4 separate regions of the Homo sapiens genome follow, and regions 1, 2 and 3 are each linked to region 4. Evidence: promoter capture Hi-C in 16 types of primary human blood cells and fetal thymus (Javierre and others, 2016). All regions are on one chromosome and are shown on one strand. Each heading gives the region's core, a stretch centred on a gene start or on the middle of the fragment in contact. The rest is flanking DNA. Distances are from core to core; before and after follow the strand shown.

What was found. The method cuts DNA at HindIII sites, captures the fragments that hold promoters and counts their contacts. A CHiCAGO score of 5 or more calls a contact.
Region 1: a fragment that was not itself captured here is called in contact with the fragment with the promoter of HGFAC in region 4 in 11 of 17 cell types (naive CD4 T cells, endothelial precursors, naive CD8 T cells and 8 more); the score reaches 12.9 in naive CD4 T cells.
Region 2: a contact is called between a fragment that was not itself captured here and the fragment with the promoter of HGFAC in region 4, in 2 of 17 cell types (M0 macrophages and endothelial precursors). The highest score is 7.3, in M0 macrophages.
Region 3: a fragment that was not itself captured here is called in contact with the fragment with the promoter of HGFAC in region 4 in 4 of 17 cell types (endothelial precursors, M1 macrophages, M0 macrophages and 1 more); the score reaches 8.3 in endothelial precursors.

What each region holds. Positions count from the first base shown.
Region 1 is chr4:3,211,176-3,214,250 of GRCh38, reverse strand. It overlaps HTT (huntingtin), which reads right to left. Exons shown (of 67, transcript NM_001388492.1): 48 at 2,109-2,322; 49 at 1,542-1,687; 50 at 116-293. Among named protein-coding and RNA genes, the nearest start is that of MSANTD1, 36 kb to the left of the region's middle. RefSeq lists enhancers at 1-299, 300-800. The HindIII fragment of the contact is 3,319 bases long and covers 1-2,909 here.
Region 2 is chr4:3,239,424-3,242,744 of GRCh38, reverse strand. It overlaps HTT (huntingtin), which reads right to left. Exons shown (of 67, transcript NM_001388492.1): 67 at 1-2,899. The coding sequence ends at 2,686. Among named protein-coding and RNA genes, the nearest start is that of MSANTD1, 8.1 kb to the left of the region's middle. The HindIII fragment of the contact is 461 bases long and covers 1,079-1,539 here.
Region 3 is chr4:3,257,425-3,260,536 of GRCh38, reverse strand. No RefSeq gene overlaps it. Among named protein-coding and RNA genes, the nearest start is that of MSANTD1, 9.8 kb to the right of the region's middle. The HindIII fragment of the contact is 4,206 bases long and covers 1-3,112 here.
Region 4 is chr4:3,440,247-3,443,490 of GRCh38, reverse strand. It overlaps HGFAC (HGF activator), which reads right to left and starts at 1,523. Exons shown (of 14, transcript NM_001528.4): 1 at 1,373-1,523; 2 at 579-759; 3 at 345-441; 4 at 71-150. The coding sequence starts at 1,489. The HindIII fragment of the contact is 2,021 bases long and covers 1,003-3,023 here.

The sequences.
Region 1 (3,075 bases), core at 1-2,500, 230 kb after region 4:
CTCTCCATCCCCAATTCCTAGCTTAGTACCTGGCAAACAGGCAGCACAAAATAAAAACATGGTGAAGCAGACAGGAACTATGATAGGAACCCACCGTTCATGGACGGGGACTCACCGGCCTCCAGGATGAAGTGCACACAGTAGATGAGGGAGCAGGCGTGGGTCACAAACTCTGTGGAGGAGACCACGCTCCAGAGGCCAGGCAGCTGCAGGGCCAGGCAGCAGCAGTCCAGCCCTGCCTGGAGATCCAGACTCAGCGGGATCTGCTCATGGATCAAATGCCAGGACAGGGCCTAAAGGGAAGTACCGAGTCACAGAATGCCCACTCGTGTACCTTCGTTTGGGGAAGCCGTGTGAATCACAGTTGTGGAACCGTCCAAAGCACTGAGGGGCAGCGCGTCCAGGTGCCCTTGCCCTTCCAGAAGGACAGCTCTGACATGGCTCCATTACATTCAGTCCTGACCCACCTATTCCCCAAAGTGCCAGTCCCCTCTCTGCCACAAAGCCCCCTTACTCTGCTGCCTCTCTCTCCTTCAGCGCTGTGGGCTCCTGTAGAAATCTCTCCTGGGCTACGTGGCCACCAGGCCAGAGGCTCTTCCTTGGGGCTCCCACAGCACCAGGGCTTGCCTCTGTCATAGGTTGAATTTGAGAGCGTGGGTTCTAGGGATAGCAGGCCTTGGGTTCAAATGCCAGAATGGCTACTTCCTAGCTCAGAGGACCTGGGCAAGTCACTGAAATTCTCTAAGCCTTGCTTTCCTCACCTGTCAAATGGGAGTAACAGAGCCTATCTCACAGGGGGTTGTGAGAGTCAAATAAGATGACGCATATAAAGTATTTCATCCTGCATACAGCAGGCACATAATATAATCAGCAGCAATCACCCTGTGCTGTGATCACACGCTGACTTTCCCACTTCCCCACTAAGCTGAAACCTGAAGGACAGGGATCACAAACCATATGACTCCACGTGGTTCAGAATAAGGGTGTATTTATCATTTTGTGAGTAATGGCACTGATGCCCTTTGGACTCCTCCCTTTCTTTGGTGTGAGGTGGAGGCGGAGCCTCTGTGGGTCTGCAAAGTGTGTCCTTGCTGAGGGCAGGCAGCACAGCGATGGCCCTTTAAGGATACAGGCCAGACTTTAATGCATCCAGAACGTGTACACATTCTGGGGGCGAATTACAAGCACTAACACAAACCAAGTAAGTATTCCTTGGCTGACATGTCCAGGCCAACTTAAGACATAAAGTACTTCCAGATGATTATTTTTCATGTCTCTAAAATTAGGATCCACCTAACATGGTAGGTGCAGATGAGAAGGGGACCTGGCTGACCTCACAGGCCACCATGAGGAGTGGCGAGGTGAGGGTGAAGGATGGCTACAATAACTTGACGGTGACAAGACTTACTGCCAGGCTGAGATGGAAAAGTGACTGGACTGGTCAGAGATCTTGCTTTTCAAATAAAACTGCTTTACCCTCTTCAGTGTCAGCCCCATGCCCCCTCCCCACAGCAACACTGAGCTCCCGAGCTGCCTCTTACCTCAAGGGTTGCCACCACGAATTTCACAATGTCCTTCTCTTTCTCAGGAGGAAGGTGCAAATGACTGGGCAGTTTGGAGACCACCACCAGGTACTGTGCCAGGGCCCGGGCCAGAGTGGGCAGGGACTGATACAGTGCAGCATCCCCTGAAACAGAAGGACCTCGTGGGTGGGTGCAAACGTGAGCACAGATGCATCAACTTCGAAAGGCAGTCAAGCAATTCTCTGAGAATCTGATGAAAGCTCAAGACATTGTTCCTCAGTGGCACATCTACACATCCGTCCACAGGACTGCACGTGGTTTGGGGCTGCATCTCCCCTGAGGTCTGGCCCAGCCTTCCTCAAGGGCTTAGAGCCCTATGTCCATGACCATGTCAATGAATGGCAAAGTGGCAAACACACAGGAAGAAATTCTGAGCCGAGGACACCCGTGCTGCTCTTTAGCTACCTCTGTAAACGCTTTCAATGTATTAGATCCACTGCCTTTATTGTACATTTACTTGGTGCAAAGTACTATACTGGCCCTGGAATGCTTTTTAAAAATAAGATAAATTTTAATTTTAATTACCAAACAGATCATTCAACTTGCTCCAGTAGGCCGCCGGCTCTGCAGGCAGCTCGGGCTGGAAGACATGATGGACAGCAGGGAGCTGCTGCACGGTGCCGCTCACACGGGCCAGAGTCACCTCACGGGCTGCTTCAAAAAGGGCACTCTTCTGGCCACCAGAAATTTCACTCATCCCTAGGCTTAAGCATGGAGCTAGCAGGCTTAGGTTGAACTCCTGAAATCAGAGCATTAAAGGTTAACAAACAATAACAACAGATTATGAGCTTTCAATCAGGTAAGAAAAACACAACAGAAAAAAGAATAAGGCAAATGTTTCTGAGAAAATACAAATTGGTATACCATCAAAAATATTTTTAAGAAAATTCTACTCTATGCCTGTTATAAATATTTGAACAATTTCATTCAACATATGCTTAGTAAAATATATATCTGTTCTCTCTTAGTATTTTAAGTAATATTTTAATTTTTTATGCTCTTGGATTTGCTTGAAATAAAAATTTTGGTATGACAATTTTAATTCATAAAAACAAAATCAAAGCTAAAGTGTCATCCAAGACCTCAGTGATACACCAACCACCCTAAAGTTTGAAAAAGATGTTCAAATGCAGCTGAAATACGTAAAAGTAGCCATATGAATGCCAAAATTTTGGTTGGAAAAATGGTATTTCTTATGTCAATTTGGATTATGTTTTAGCAACCCTTTTGTTTAGCCATTTAAAGATTGGTGGCCGATCCTTCAGGTAAAACATCTATCTTAGTTTAATACTCAGAAAAGCATCATGAATGCCAAAAGTTGAAGCTTTCTTTTACAGTCAGAACTTTTACAGCTGTTCAAAGCCCAATTAGCAAATTTGGAAAACCTAATAAACAGATCACTAAGCAAATTTATCACTCAGTAAGTTAGCTTTCACTGCATGAATCTTAAGATAAACAATTTTAGGCCGGGCGTGGTGGCTCAGGCCTATAA
Region 2 (3,321 bases), core at 60-2,559, 200 kb after region 4:
CAGCCCACCCCCAAAACTTGACAACCAAATTAATCACATTTGCAACAAAATTTGGATAATACGATGGGTGCTTGCCACAGATTTTTAGGAACATGATAAAGTCTTCCTCCCTTCTGCAGAGAGCTGATATGGAGACCATCTTCGCCAGTGGGATCCTAGTGGGCAATGAATGAGCCCTGCCCTGACCACGTCCCACGCCTGGATGTCCGTCACGCGGCTAACTTGACCTGGCGGGTCTAAGGAAAGTCAACTTCCAGGAAGAACCGACACGGGCACTCTTAGAGGCCATGCATCTCCGTCTTGAGAGGTGTGTGTGTAAAATTATAGATGTGTCTATATGCACATGCATGGATACTTTATGTATATGCGTGGGTGAAGTCATTTTTACTAATGAGCTCATATTCATCTCCGGAGCACACAGGCAGGTCTTTGGGGGTGGGGGACACCTACTGCCAGAGCGGGGTGTTCTGAGCCCCTTGCTAAGGACTGGTTTAGATCACGTCGTAAACAAGAGGAAGACAAACTCTATGTTGAGCCCAGCGATATGCATTCCAAGGGAATGGCTCTGTTTTACATTCACAGTGTTATTTCTTACAAATGTAAACATCTAGCCAGGAACAACATCTGGCCTGTGATACTGCTGTCTCAGAGCTGCTGACATAACCTGCGGGGGAGGCGGGAGGCGGGTGGGGAGCAGCCAACAGTTCTGAGAACTTTCCCCTCGTTCCCAAACCTTCTAGCGGGCTTTCCAGGAAAAAGCTAGGATGAGAAACAGGAGCCCCCAACCAATACGGAATGGTGATTTTCTTACGTGTTATAATTCAGTAGCTTCCCTTAAGGGCCTCCTCAAACATCGGACCCCTTTCTACCGCTCCTGCTGCCCCGCCACGAGGACGAGGTGGTCCTGGCTGGGGGAGGCCTCTGTTGGGAGCTGGTGGGAAAAGCCTCATACAGGCCTGGCAGAGGCTGCTCAGAGGAGGGGCTCCCTTTCAGCTCCCCCTCACGTATGTGGGCAGCATACAAGTCCACATCTCAGCTGCTCCCCAGCTGCCACATAGGAGAGGGACAGGTGGAAGCTTGGGGGTCTCAAGGCAGCACCTGCACAGAGTTCCAACATTTCCTCCACTTACCACATTCAATACCCAAAACATCGACGGGCATGACCAAACCAAGCCACATGACAGTCGCCAACCTTGCCTGGCTCGCCTCTAGGGCTGAGGAAGCAGAGCCCCTGCCTCGTCTCACAGCCAGTCGGCAAGCAGAGCTCCCAAATCCAGCTCCTACATCAGCAGCAGCCCGGCCATCCAGAATCCACTTCCATTTTAATGACTTGGCTCCTCTGGGCCTGCAAACAGGAGGCTGGTCCAGGGACCTGGCCTGGGGATAGGAGTGGCGGCTCTGACAGGGCCGTGGGGCAGTCTCCGATGAGCACAGATCTGCACTCTCCTGACTAAAAGGGGTCACCGTGCAAGATGTCAGCTGGAACGGGGGCAGAAGGGATGCTGGGCTCTGTCACTAACAGTGCCAAGACACCAAGCTTTGCTGTTGACCGAGAGAGGCTCAGACAAAACACAGCTCAGTGACACTCTTAGGGCATGCATCCATGGAGCAGCAGGTCCCAACACCTGCCAGCCAGCTCCTAGGCAGACGCCACCCCAGGGCTAGCAAGGAACAGGAGTGGGAGGCCCATGTCTCTGGACACAGTGGAGGCTGCTCACAGCCAGGGAGGGCTGGCCTTCTCAGCTGAGTGACAGGGAGGCTGCTGTCCCTGACTGGTGGGTGGAGAACGACAGTCGTCTGTGCCCGAGGAGGAGGGGCTGCAGGTGAGCGCACCCCTAGGATAATGGGGGCCTGTCCTCAGTCCTGCTGTGGCCACCTGCCCACTAACGCCTCTCTACATCCCAGTCACCTTGTGAATGCATAAACAGGAACATGTACAACGGAAATGTCAGCGGGTGCTCAGGAGGGCTATGCCAGTGGCTACAGGAGAGGGAGCGTGGCCGGGGGCCCTGTCCACCACCCCGGACGCTGTCGCATGCAGCACAGGCCTTGCGATTCACATACTTTACACGGGCATAGAAAGAGTTACGTTAAAATTAATCTCTTTACTGATATAATTAAATTTTAAATCCTGAGAAGAAAAGAGAGAAGGGAGAATGGTGCCGGGTGTCTAGCACCCCCAGCCACTGGCCCAGCACAGGCCATGGCATCTGTGCATCCAGACACGGGGCGTGGCATGCACACCCCACCAGGGAGACCCAGGCCAGTGTTCCCAAAGCCTGCTCACGGCACCTTCTACTGCAGGACAGCAGAGGGGCCAACAGCCAGCCTGCAGGAGGGAGGACTTCTGGCCCAGATGCAAGAGCAGCTGCAACCTGGCAACAACCAGCAGGTGACTATCAGGAGAAAGGACCTGGTCACCCACATGGGGTGCAGCACAGCTGCTCCTGCTTTCTGGAAGGCCTCAGGCTCAGCCCCACCAGGACTGCAGACACTCCCTGCCTGGCCACTGCCACAAAGAGCACTTCTGCCACATGGCAGAGACACGCACGTTGCCTGGCCGCCCGCGGCATGTGCGGAAGCCCATAGGGACCAAGCTGGCTCGGTGGAGGCAGGGCACAAGGGCGCAGACTTCCAAAGGCTCCGGCCCCAGCTGCCGCCTCACAGTCTCTCCCACCATGGCGCTCAGCAGGTGGTGACCTTGTGGACATTTCGTAAACAAGTCAGCAGCCGGTGATATGGGCTTCCTGGGGCTGCAACCACCTCAAGCACAGACTGGAAGGCCCTGCGGTCGAGCTCCTCCTCTATCTGGTGTCTGTAGAAGTCTGTGGCGACCAGGCAGAAAAGGTTCACGTCCACCTGCTCCAGCTTGCCCATCCTGCTGATGACATGTGGGAGGCTGGTGCAGGAGTTAAGGAAAAAGGCCGGCAAATGAGGGGAATGCTGCCTCCCTGTCCTCACCTGGGAGTTCCTCTCCTGAAACAGTCTACAAAGGGGTCCAGGGAGCCTGGAGAGCGAGCAGAGCCCCGGAAGGGCCACCTGGATGCCTCCAGCTGCATCAGCGCCTCCACCTCCATTCCTGCAACCCTTGGCTGGCTGGATGCCCTGCAGGCAGGGCACCCACTCGGCAGCACTCACCTGGCCTGGCTCCTGTGCAGCGCTGGTGGCCGGTGCTTCCGCTGGCCTCCACTAGCCCTGCTCCAATGCAGTGAGGGCAGAGCCGTGCCAGGCACGCCGGGCAAGGCTGTGCTGTCAGCACCAGGACAACTGTGCTGCTTGGAGGCTCTTGTGGTCTGTCTTGGGGAAGGGCTGTGGAAAGGG
Region 3 (3,112 bases), core at 235-2,734, 180 kb after region 4:
AACAAACCACCACCTGTCCAGTGTTGGAATAGGATCACGGAAGAATATACCGATTATTTGCAAAGGTTATTAAAATGTTCCTTTTCTTTTCAAATACACATCTGGGTAAGAATGAGCTTCTCCATTCACTCCTATACTTCACAACCAAAACACCCCCAAAGTGGACGGACCCAGAGCCTGCTGAGAGGCCAGTGGGCTTCTCTTAAGCCAGAGATTTACGACCATGTAAAACTATGCCACACTTCTCCCGAAAACTTTTTGTTTTGGAAAATATATTTTTCATACAATTGTTATTTATGTTAATATGTCATGGGTTTATTGCTATTTTGAAATGAATACATGTTTTCTAAAGGTCTCAGGTTTAATTTCTAATAAGATATTCTAATGTGTATTAATATTGGTCATTAGAACTCACATAAGCAAAAGTTCTTTGGCACTTTTAATGAATTTTATTTTATTTTATTTTTATTTATTTATTTATTATTTTTTTTTGAGACAGAGTCTCGCTCTGCTGCCCAGGCTGGAGTGCAGTGGAGTGATCTCAGCTCACTGCAAGCTCCACCTCCTGGGTTCACGCCATTCTCCTGGCTCAGCCTCCCAAGTAGCTGGGACTACAGGCGCCCGCCACCACGCCCGGCTAATTTTTTGTATTTTTAGTAGAGACGGGGTTTCACCGTGTTAGCCAGGATGATCTCAATGTCCTGACCTCGTGATCCGCCTGTCTTGGCCTCCCAAAGTGCTGGGATTACAGGTGTGAGCCACCGCACCTGGCCCACTTTTAATGATTTTTAAGAGCGTTGAGGGGTCCTCAGACCAGTTTGAGGACGGCTGCCGCAGGGTGGCCTGTCTAGGAGTGGCACTGACCAGAGGAAATGCGTTTCTTCAGCTTTAGGACGGGACACCAAATTGCTCCTGGAAGCGGCTGCACCACATCCCACCAGCAACGCAGGAGTCTCCATTTCCCGACGTTCGTCCTGGCCTCCAGCAGCCACATGATCTCAGTCTGCGGTTCCAACTCCCCGACTCCGAGGGAGGCCGAGCGGTCTTCTCACGCTGACTGGCCTTGGACTTTTGGCCCCGTTCTTTTTTCATATGAATTTAAACATCATCGCGTCCATGTCAAAACCAAGAAGTGATATTATTGAGACTATGTTTGGAATGACATTAATAAAATGATGACATTGACTTTGGAGCTTTCAGGAGTGTGCGAAGTTTCTCCAGCGCTCAGGTATTATTTAGATTTTTCAGTAAGACTGCATAGTTCTCTTCAGTAGAGGTCCTGTTCCTTCTGGGTTAAATTCATTCCAACTCTGAATGGGATATTTCTTCATCCTCATTTTCAACAAGTTTAAGCTGGTTTAAAGAGCTCCCAGTCTTTTGTACATTTGGCTTTCTGGGTATACAAAAATGAAATCTGAAAACAAAGGTAACTCTACTTTCTTCATTTCTTATCCTGCTTATTTTATTTATCTTTTTTTAATTTTTTTTTTTTTTTGAGACCGAGTTTCACTGTCACCCAGGCTGGAGTGCAGTGGTGCAATCTCAGCTCACTGCAACCTCCGCCTCCCGGGTTCAAGCGATTCTCCTGCCTCAGCCTCCCAAGTAGCTGGGATTACAGGCATGCACCACCACGCCCAGCTAATTTTGTATTTTTAGTAATGACGAGGTTTCTCCATGTTGGTCAGGCTGGTCTTGAACTCCTGACCTCAGAGGATCCTCCCGCCTCAGCCTCCCAAAGTGCTGGGATTACAGGCGTGAACCACCGTGCCCGGCTTTTGTTTATTTATCTTAATGCATTAGCTAAAAACGTCAAAACAACATGAAATACTACAGGTGAAAAGCAAGCACATCTGCCTGGCTCCTGATTCTAGTTTTCAATGTTAACATGCTGCTTTGCTGAATCTTATCAAATATTTTAGCAATGGCTGAGATCATTTTTTTTCTCCTTAATGGACCAACAACTAAGGAAGAAATCAGAAAGTTGTTAAGGACATGCTGCTGATGAAAGGCACCAACCCCACGATATTCTACAGCTGAGTTCTGCTGACATGAGGCGATGCTGCTCCAGCCTGGAGAAGGTCGGGCAGCGCCTGCCCCTTCTCTAAGGTGATGGAAGGGCATGAATCACTGACTCTGATTAGAGAGGGCGAGAAGAAAACAGACCAAACCACTTCTAACCCAAGCACAGCAGCGACTCGCGGTGTGCTGTCCCGGATGCCTGGCAGTTACTGAAGTACCGGTGCGTCATGGCTGACTCTACAGCAGTTTCAGGGTGAAGAAGTTGCTACATCATTTAGAACCTCCATCTGTTATGTCTTGTGGGAGCGTCCAGCCTAACCTTCCTGCCAGGGCCGCGGGCACCCTTCCCTCTCGAGGGCTTGTGACTGGCTCCCTGTTAGGAGGCTGGGGAACCCCACACTGGCCCCATGGGAGCTGCTAGCCAGCCTCAGTGGTCAGCAGCTGGGGGCAGGTGCCTGTGTCATGGCTGGGTTCCCAGCATCTAGGGTGGCACAGGTGTCCAGTTGGAGCCCAGTGTGTTTGTTAAGCAAATGATTTCTTGGGTGGTGTCTTGCCTACGAGGCGGGTGGGTCCCGGAGCTGGAAACTGGCTAGAGCAAAAGCTCCCAAAACTCAGGCCCGCATCAGATGTGCCCGCATCCTCTGTCCTCCTGGGGCCACCCTTCCTTCTGCTTCTCGGCAGGTGCTATGGCAGCCACACTGGCTTGCAAGAGCTGGCTCTGTGCATCTCTTCTCAACCACAGGGTCAGCGGCGTCATCTGGCAGCTGGAAACTGGCACCGTAGCGCTGGCTGCTGCTCCCTCCTCCCACCACTGCCGCCGCTCCTTACACCCTCACGACACTCTGCCTCTCATCCCACAGCAACATGGGCCGAGTCCTCGGCACACAGGCTCTGGGGAGATGGCTGAGGAGGGTGGGAGCTCCAGGACCCTCAGAGTGAAGTGAATCCTGCTTGCCCAGCTCCCCTTTGGGCTCCACAGAACACGCCGGCCTCTCCTTCACACAGGCAGGCCGAGGGCACCCTCCACACCACCATGGTCCACAGGCTGGTCCCACACCCAGTGGAGTCCAAGCTGCTCTCTTGCCTGGCTGAC
Region 4 (3,244 bases), core at 274-2,773:
CCTCCCCTTGGCCCTTCTGGCCTGGCCCAGTGCCCCCTGCCCGCCCCAGGCTACCCAACCCAGCACCCACCTGGGCCCCCTGGAGGCGGGGTGGCCTCCACACAGTAGCCCCAGGCCCTGTCCCGGTCGTAGTTGTGAGTTGTGGCACACCTGGGGGGCGACACCTGCGTGCATGGGGGTCCCAGGCAGAGGCCCCCCACCCCACCCCACCACCCTGGAGGGTCTCTGGGTTCACTGGGTCCGCCTGCTGCGTGGTGAGCGCCTACTGTGTGCCCGGCTCCCAGAAAAGCAGGCAGCGTGGGGCAGGTGACCCCAGCTCGGGTGCCCCGGCTGCCCGGACCCACCACTTCCTGTGTGCACTGCCCTCCGAAGTGCAGGCATGCAGCATGCGGCCCCCGTAGCGGAAGGGGAACCTGCAGGGCCTCCCGTCCTCGGTGAGTGCTGTGGGGAGGGGGTGGCAGGGTCAGGGCTCCCTCGAGGGGCACCCGAGCCCCTCAGGACCTCCAGCCGCAGCCATGCTCCTCCCACCCAGCCCTAAGGTGAAGCACGACACCTCCTCCCAGGCCCACCTGACCCACCTTGGGCCTGGGGGCTACTGCTCGAGGGAACTGCCCTGGGCGGGGGCGGGAGCCCCCCACTTTGGGGTCCCTCTGCCTCTGGAGCACTTGTTGCTGGGGTCTCAGAGGTCACAGAGGTCACCAGGATAGTGGGGATCGCAGGGGTCGCTGTGGCATTAGGTTCTGGGGACTCCGTACGGTTCTAGGAGGAGCAGAAAGGGTGTCAGTGTGGGACAGACCCTCACACTCAGGTCCTGCCGGGCAGGAGGTCACAGCCCTGAGCCTGTTTCCATACTGGGGCCCCCAGATCTCGGAGCAGGTTCCAGGAGGACACACGACATTCCTGAGGCCTCAGCCAGGCCCTGACACCTTCCCCGCCCTCGGCCCCTAGTTAACACCTGCTCAGGGTCACTGCCCAGGCCCAGGCACTGCTACCCACCAAGCTTAAACCCTGACGTCAGTTTTTGGTGATGGGAGCAGCTAGGAGGCCCTGGGAGGTTCCCCCAACCTCACGCATCCAGACCCAACAGAGGTCCAGAGAGAGGGGGCAGCCCCCAGACCCATAGGGGCCCAGGCCAGGCCGCACAGGGATGACAGCCCCCAGGTGGGGCTCCGTGAGCCCAGGCCCCAGCCTCCAAGGCCAGTCCAGCACCCACCTGCCCTGTGAGGGCCAGCTTTCAACGTAAGCCCCCTGCTCGGACCCCCGCCCCCTCAAATCCCCACGCTCTGTGGCGACCCTCCCTCTGGCCTCCTCCCAAGGACCCCAAGTAGCCACTGGGAACCTCTGGTCGCACTGCGACAAGGTCAGTGCTCACCCCGCCAGGCTGGGGCTGGAACCCCCGTGGCAGCAGCAGCAGCAGCAGGAGGAGGAGGAGGAAGGGGCCCAGCCCCGGTGGGGGCCAGGGGCTGGGGACCCAGGCCCAGCGCCCCATGGCTCCTGAGCTGGCCTGAGGGGCAGTGGGAGGCGGGAGCAGAGCGGCCAAGGCAGGTGGGGTCAAGGCTTCGTGGAAATGATTAACCCTGGCTGCCTCCCACGTCAGGCGGGCCCAGCCGGAGAGGAAGTCCCCGAGTCCCCTGGCCCCCACACCTGCTGCCCACCTCACTTTGACCCTACCTGGAAGCCCAGCTGTCTCTCTGGCCTCGGCCTGCACTGGTCCTAGTCCTAGACCTGACATGGTCCTTGGGCCTCAGCTTAGAAGCCTCCTCCAGGAAGTCTTCCAGGATAATGCAGATAGGTTGGGGCCTAGATGGTCTGGCGCCGCTCCCAGTCCCTGCAGGCCACAGAGCTGGCCACCATCTGCCTGTGAATTGTCCATGATGAGAGCCACTACGGGCGCTGGGCCTTGGAGGTGTCCAGCTCTGTGCCCAGCACAGCACAGACAGTAGCAGTGGGGATGGGATTGTCCCTGTCCCACAGACGGCAGCACTGGGGGCTCCTGGAGGGTTCGGTGCTGCATCCTCTCGGTGGCCCCAGGGCTGGCCAAAAGGCCAGGCACAGGGAGGAGAGGGGCCACGCAATGGCTGAGTGTAGCATAGGATGACCTGAGATCCTGCCCCACCTGCCTGTTCTGACTCTGGGGGTGGCCAGGGCCCCCCAGCAGCCCCTGGTGATGTTCAGAGTGTCCCTTCCTCCCCGTCTCCCAGACAGACCCAGGAGTCCACTCCAAGAAGCCTTTCCAACCCCAGCTCCCCACCGCCGCCTGGATGGTACAGGCCAAGTCTGCGGCAGCACAACCCTGGGCCAGGTACCCTGGGGCCTGGGATGGAGCTGGAGTCACGGAATTCGTGACTTGGGGCTGTGGGCAGAGCTGCCTGAGGAACCTCTTCTGCAATATTGGAGCAGCCGCTACGGCACCTCGGGTTCCTCCTGAGTCAGCAGCGACATCCCAGGGCTGCCGAGGTGGGAGGAGGGGTGAGTGAACCACTGTGGCCTGGAGACCAGCGAGGGCTGAAGCTGCCTCCCTGTATCCCCTAAAACCCCTCTCTCTGCCCCCCATTTGCCTGTCTGTGCAGAGGGAGAGAGAATGGACACCCACTGACCACCCAGCTTGACACCGTGGGCCCCAGGGGGCACAGTGCACATGGAGGCGTGGTGGGCCCTGGGGGCACGGTGAATGGGGGGTTGGGGGTTGGGGGGGAGGTCATGGTGGGCCCTGGGGCACGGTGAATGGGGGGTTGGGGGTTGGGGGGGAGGTCATGGTGGGCCCTGGGGGCACGGTGAATGTGGAGGCATGGTGGGTGCTGGGGGCACGGTGAATGGGGGGTTGGGGGTTGGGGGGGAGGTCATGGTGGGCCCTGGGGGCACGGTGAATGTGGAGGCATGGTGGGTGCTGGGAGCAGGATGGATGCGGGCTTGTGGTGGGTGGTACACACAGCTGGCACTGGGCTTCATCTTCCATTCCGACCCCTCCCCCAGCCCCCTTCCTAGAGCACCACTAAGTGGGGTGCATCCACTCCCTGGAAGCTTCTAGAACAGCCCCAGGGGACTGGCTGTGCTCTCGGGCCTCTAGGATGGTCTGAGGAGCTCACCAACCACCCTGTACCGAGGGTACTTGGCTTTAGGGGTTCCATCAAGGCAACCTGGGGAATGGCCCTGCCTCTTCCGACTCAACCCAGCCCCCAAGGCCCCGGCCTCCCCTGCAGCCACACCTGGTTCCCTTTCTGTAATCAGACCCTCCTTAGCCCCA